Linked DNA regions of Homo sapiens: region 1 is linked to region 2. The links are contacts of gene promoters, found by promoter capture Hi-C in human tissues and cell types (Jung and others, 2019). All regions are on one chromosome and are shown on one strand. Each heading gives the region's core, a stretch centred on a gene start or on the middle of the fragment in contact. The rest is flanking DNA. Distances are from core to core; before and after follow the strand shown.

Region 1 (2,700 bases), core at 113-2,612, 42 kb before region 2:
TTGGAGGTGCTCAAGTTAGTGGTAGAAGTGCCATGCGTTGCTTCCCTCCAGAAACACCCTCCCAAGACATGGCCTTCTTCTAACCTACCAGACATCTGCTGGGCATCTACACCCCGGCACTTTTACTCAGGATCTCTTTTCGTGTAATCCTAGCATTTCTGCCCATTTTACTGATGAGAACACCAAGGCTCAGGCAAATAAACTTACCTAAAGTTAGCATCTCAGCAGGATATGGTGTTCTGATGCCAAGAACAGTGCTCATTCCAAAACCCTAATGTTGTGGGGGGGTGGGGTGGGTTTCATCAGAAGGAGCCTTAGGGGAAGAATCTGTGGAATTTTGGTTGGTCTATTACCCTCTGTTATCTATATGTGTAACCTACTGCCATCATCATCACCATCAACTTCATAATCTCATCAAAAGATAATCATCTTCATTGCTGTTATGTTATGAGCAGCCAGTGACTGTGCTACCCAAATAATTTAGATCCATTGGCCCTTTGCTCAGGATAGTGGTGAAGAGTGGGGAATCTAAAATAGATGTCTTGGGTTTAAACACCAGTTCTTCTTCTTAACAGAGTGAGGGTGGCATCGGGCTTAGTCTCTTGCCCAATATTGCACAGGAAGTAAATGATGGTAGTCTGGATTAAACCCAGGCTTTTTGGTCCACAAAATGCATGTTATCCTGCCTCCCAGAGGCTGGGCATGGCTTTTAAACAGAGTTCTTGAGAAAATAATTCCAACATCTTCAAGGAGCATTCTACAGACTCATAGATGCCATCGAACAAACCTGAAAAGTCGAAGTAGTATTGGGATCACATCTTGCATCCATAGGTAAAAAGGAAGAAATTGGACATATGGACATTTTTTGAATCTCAGGTGGGCCTGGGGAAAACCAGAGCCCAAGCTTTCTTGCCACTTAGAGCATTACTGCCTGGAAGTCAAATGACTTCTTCATGTGGTCACAGGCCGGAATGAGCCCTCTGCTCCCTCCAGGACCTGCCTATCAACTCTCCCCACAAGTTTTCCTCCATCTTCTTCTTCTTTTTACAAGGATCACTCAGATAAAACATGATTTGCTGTTATAGAATGGCTATAGCCTACAGAAAGCTTCATACTCTACATAAGGGGAGTATATAATTACAATTATTGATTACTGAATAGTGTGTCAACTGTTGACCACTTTCAGAAAATTTCCCGGCACTAATGCATCCCACTATCATAAGATTCTTCTATGATACAATTCAGGCAAAAAATCCTTTCTTTCTCTGTGTGTGTGCAGGGTTGTGTGTGTGTGTGTGTGTGTGTGTGTGTGGTGTAGTTGCAATTGGTGGTATTATTTTTTTCCTAACTTCTTGAGTTGAATGTTTGGTTCATGTATTTTCAGTCTTAGGTTTTGATAAACCTATTTAAGGCTATAAATTGTTCTCTGAATACTACTTTAGCCATGTTAAAGAAGGTTCTGTAGAAGCACGGCTTGACATAGAACTCTGAATGCACAGAAATTGTTGAGGTGTGATCCAGGGAGGGAAAGAAGCAGGGGAGAGATGGGGAAGAAGCTGAGCATGGCTGTGGTCTTGAGTGATGTTAAGCTTAGCCTGAGGGAGGTGGGGCCTCTGAGAGGTAAGTTGCTCCTTAGGGACAGGATCAGCCATTCACTGGCTGTGGGCTGCTCGGGTAAGGATGAGTCTAACTCTGCCAAGAAGATGATAGCTCTGAGCCATTGGCAGCCAACACTCAGCAGCCAAAGAGTAGGTGTTCTAACTCCTGACCCAGCAAAGGGGATCTGGACCAGGTCCCAGTGTTAGCCCCCATACACAGCTCAAGTGTGCATGACTGAAGCATCCTCTGTACCAGCAAACGAGTACCTGAGTGCTGACATTGGAACTGCTAGCTTATGGTGAAAATAAAACAGAAGACACTTTTAGATGGTATTCTGACCTTAAATATTCCACAATCAATGCACCCTCTTATTGCATGCATGCCACTGCTGGTACACTGAAGGACACAGGGCTTCTGAGAGGAGGAGAAGCCAAGGAGCCATCTGCAGAATAACCAGGAGGTGTCCCATGGGCTTCATGTTCTCAGGACTCGGCTTTGTCCGTCACTCAACGGGAGCACACTAGGACCCACTCACGAGGGAGGTTTGAGGTCTTGTTCTCAAAGGTTCTCCCCATCTTCACCCCCCAACTTCTCATTCAATAAGAGAACAGAGCTTCTCTCTGAAGGAAGCACAGTTCAAGCCCCACCCAATCTGAGTATCCTTCCGTCTTTCTTAACAAAACTGTAACACCTAATACCCCCATTTCCGATCCTGGAAGAAATGGGAATGGAGAGAGTGACAATCTGATCTCTATATTCAGTGAGTTCTAAAATAATGCTAAAATGGCTCCAGGATGACCTTGATCTGAAGACACAGAAATTTCAACAGTGCATTCTCACAGATGTCTCCCTAAGACATTTTAGATGAAGACATCCCTAAGATGATCCCTTCAACTCAAGAAGGAAGATTCTGACGTTCTGGTGGTGCTGCTTCCCCTGCGGATATATTGCAGATCACTGCAGGTCAAACAGTGGCTGCATTTATTAAAAAGAGGATTCGTAGGAGGCAAGACGACCAAGGCTGCTTCTCACACAGCACCAAAGTGCTCCTCTTTAGCAGACATTAATTCAGAGACACAAGGATGCAAGAAAGTCATTCTT
Region 2 (2,700 bases), core at 84-2,583:
CGGGCTGTGTCTCCCTAGGCCGGTGCTCGCTGCTGCGCTCAGTGTGAGCCGCAGCCCCTCCCCTCCCCCCGGCCGGAGCTGAACTCGGAGCCCAGGCCGGTCCCCGCTCTCCGCCCGCCCGGGGCTCTGCGGCGCCACCGCTGCCGCCGCCTCCCCGCGGAGTGACGCGCCCTGCAGCCAACCGGGGCAGCCGGGGGGGAGGTCCGGGAGGGGTCCTGGGCGGAGCCGGGCCGCCCCCTTATCCCACGGGCTCGGGGCTGCTTCTCCCGAAAACTTCAGCCCTAATTGTCCTGGGAATGTCCGAGGTAGAGAAAGGGAGCGAGGGAGCAAGCAAGAAGCTGGAGGATCAGTGCCCCTGGCGGGGAGGGGATGGGGTGGCGGGAGAACTGCCCCTCCCCCCAGCCACAAACCCATCAGGTTCCCAAACCTTTCCTGGATCCTCTTCTCCGCGCCCCCGCGAGCCCGGGATCCAGGGGATGGAGAACTCGGGGCGGAGGAGCGCCGAGCCAGGCGGGAGGGAGGCCGAGCCGTGGGCGGGAGGCGGACCGGCGTGGGGCTGGCTCTTCCCCACTCGCTTATTTTTTTTTTTAATGGGGGTGGGGGTGGGCTGCTTTCTGGTAGCTCTTAAAGAAACGAAGAAACACTCACGAAACGGGACGCCCTCCCCCCTGATCCCGCCGCGGGACTCCCTCCCCCCGCGGGCCGGCGCGCCTCGCCCCCGAGTTGGGAAGTTCGCAGCGCGCCGGCAGCCCGGGTCCCCAGCCCTCGCCGCCCGGCCCCACCCCCCACCCGGGGCGGCTCAATTCCGGGGAGGGCATGCTAATTTGGGTCGGCCCAGCCCGGGATTGTGGGGGGGGGCGAAGGAGGGAGGGAAGAGGGAGGGGAGAGGGAGAGAGCGGGGGGCGCCTGCCGGGGCGCCGGGCCCGCAGTGGAGAGGAGGCCGGCCCCCGGCGGCCGGGCCGCGGAGTCCCGGGCGGTCGCAAAGAGGGTTAACCCAGTGTCGGGCGGCGCGGCGCGCAGAGCCAGCCCCGCGGCCGGCTTATTGGGCCAGCGCGCGGAGAGACAGGGGTCTGCAGCAAATCACGAACTAATTGATTAAGGCGAGCGGGTTTGAATAGCGCTGGCCCGGTGCCAATCGCCTTTCAAAGAGCCCCTCTATGATTAATCGCAATGCATTATTGATAATCATAATTATAGCAGGACACATGCGCGCTGCGCCCGGGGCCGGGGAGCCGGGGAGGGGGCGGGCGGGCCGGCGGGCGGGGGGAGCCGCCGCCGCCGCCGCCGCTCGATTTCCGTAATTTTGAGAAGATTTTTTTTTAGTAATTTTTTATTCTGCCCCAGCTGATGTTTGAGCCAGCATGTCGCGGAGGAAGCAAGCGAAGCCTCAACATTTCCAATCCGACCCCGAAGTGGCCTCGCTCCCCCGGCGAGATGGTGAGTGCTCCGGCCCGCGCCGTGGACACACACACACGCACTCACACTCACGCACACTCGGACCCACTCACACGCGGCTGGCCCCCGCGCCCCCTACCTCACCGCCGCCGCGGCCCCGATTGCTTCTTCCACTCGGCGTAATTTTTTTTTTCTTTTTAATTTTCAATGTGCCTTTGCTGGGCTTTCCCCCGCTGCCCCGGGGAAAGCGAGCACATCTCCCGGCAGGATCTTTCCGGAGTTGTTGGGTCCTCCCGGGGGAAGGAGGGCGGGCATGCCGGCCTGGCTTCTCCGTCCCTGCTTTTCCGGGGATCCCAGCCGCGGCCAAGACCCGGGAGCCCCATGAGGCGTGGGTGCGGGTGGAGGTCGCCCCGGCCTGACCGCACGGGGCCCCTAGCGCTCCCGGCGCCGGCCCCAGGGCACCCGGCCCGGCCTCCGCCGCCCGGCCTTGCTGCCAGCGGTAAGGAAGTTTACTTCGGGCGCTGGGCTGAACTCCGAGCGTGGGGGAGTTCGCTGCGCCCCCCTGCCCCCACGCACACTCCCCCTCGGCCTGCGAGGCAGAACCGGGTGTCTTTGGAGGTTCAGAGCTGCAAGAAGATGGGGACTGGTGTCGGGGCGCCAGCGCCTGACCCGCTGGGGTTGCGGCCGGGGTGGAGAGTGCTGCTGGCCGCCAGTTGTTCCGGAGACGGTGCAAACGGACGGGGAAAGTGTCGGGGTCTGGCTCGCAAAATTTATCTCCGCATCTCTTCCCACAACACTTGCACCCTCTGCCCCCCAAAATCTTTCTGGTCGGTATGCGCCCTCTGCGGATCGTGGTGCTCCCTACTTCCAGGGGGGTCAGGGAAGAAGTCATAGAATAGTTTTCCAGGTTTGCGGGTGGCCAGCCAGAGTGGAATCCCCCCTGAAACAGGGGCACTTGTTTTCTCCGATGGAGGCGACAACTGTGGGTCCCGAAGGGGCTGAACAAGTCCAGAACAAAGTTTGTGTGTGGGGGCTATGGCAGAGAGTGGAAGAGATCCGGGCAGGGAGTTGGGGTACAAAGGGAGGACACCTGGAATCCCTCCTTGCTCCTAAAGGTGTTTCACGGTACCGGCCTCAAAGCTCCCAGGCCTAGCGCCCGAGGCGGTGTAGCGGCGCCCGGACTCGGGTCCCCGGGTCGTCCCGGCACGATGCTGGCCTCTCGGCTGTGGGAGGACGCACAAGGAGCAATCTCGGCGGGGTCTCAGCGGCTCCGGATGCCACTCGGGATGCCCACGCCCTAGGCGG

Evidence for each region. Contacts are between HindIII fragments. The study calls those that stand out against the background at their distance.
Region 1: a contact is called between a fragment that was not itself captured here and the fragment with the promoter of SALL1 in region 2, in 2 of the 25 tissues and cell types used here (mesenchymal stem cells and thymus).

Annotation. Positions count from the first base shown.
Region 1 is chr16:51,192,045-51,194,744 of GRCh38, reverse strand. No RefSeq gene overlaps it. Among named protein-coding and RNA genes, the nearest start is that of SALL1, 42 kb to the right of the region's middle. The HindIII fragment of the contact is 4,236 bases long and covers 1-2,700 here.
Region 2 is chr16:51,149,903-51,152,602 of GRCh38, reverse strand. SALL1 (spalt like transcription factor 1) reads left to right here and starts at 1,333. Exons shown (of 3, transcript NM_002968.3): 1 at 1,333-1,437. The coding sequence starts at 1,362. RefSeq lists an enhancer at 1,636-2,136. The HindIII fragment of the contact is 9,229 bases long and covers 1-2,700 here.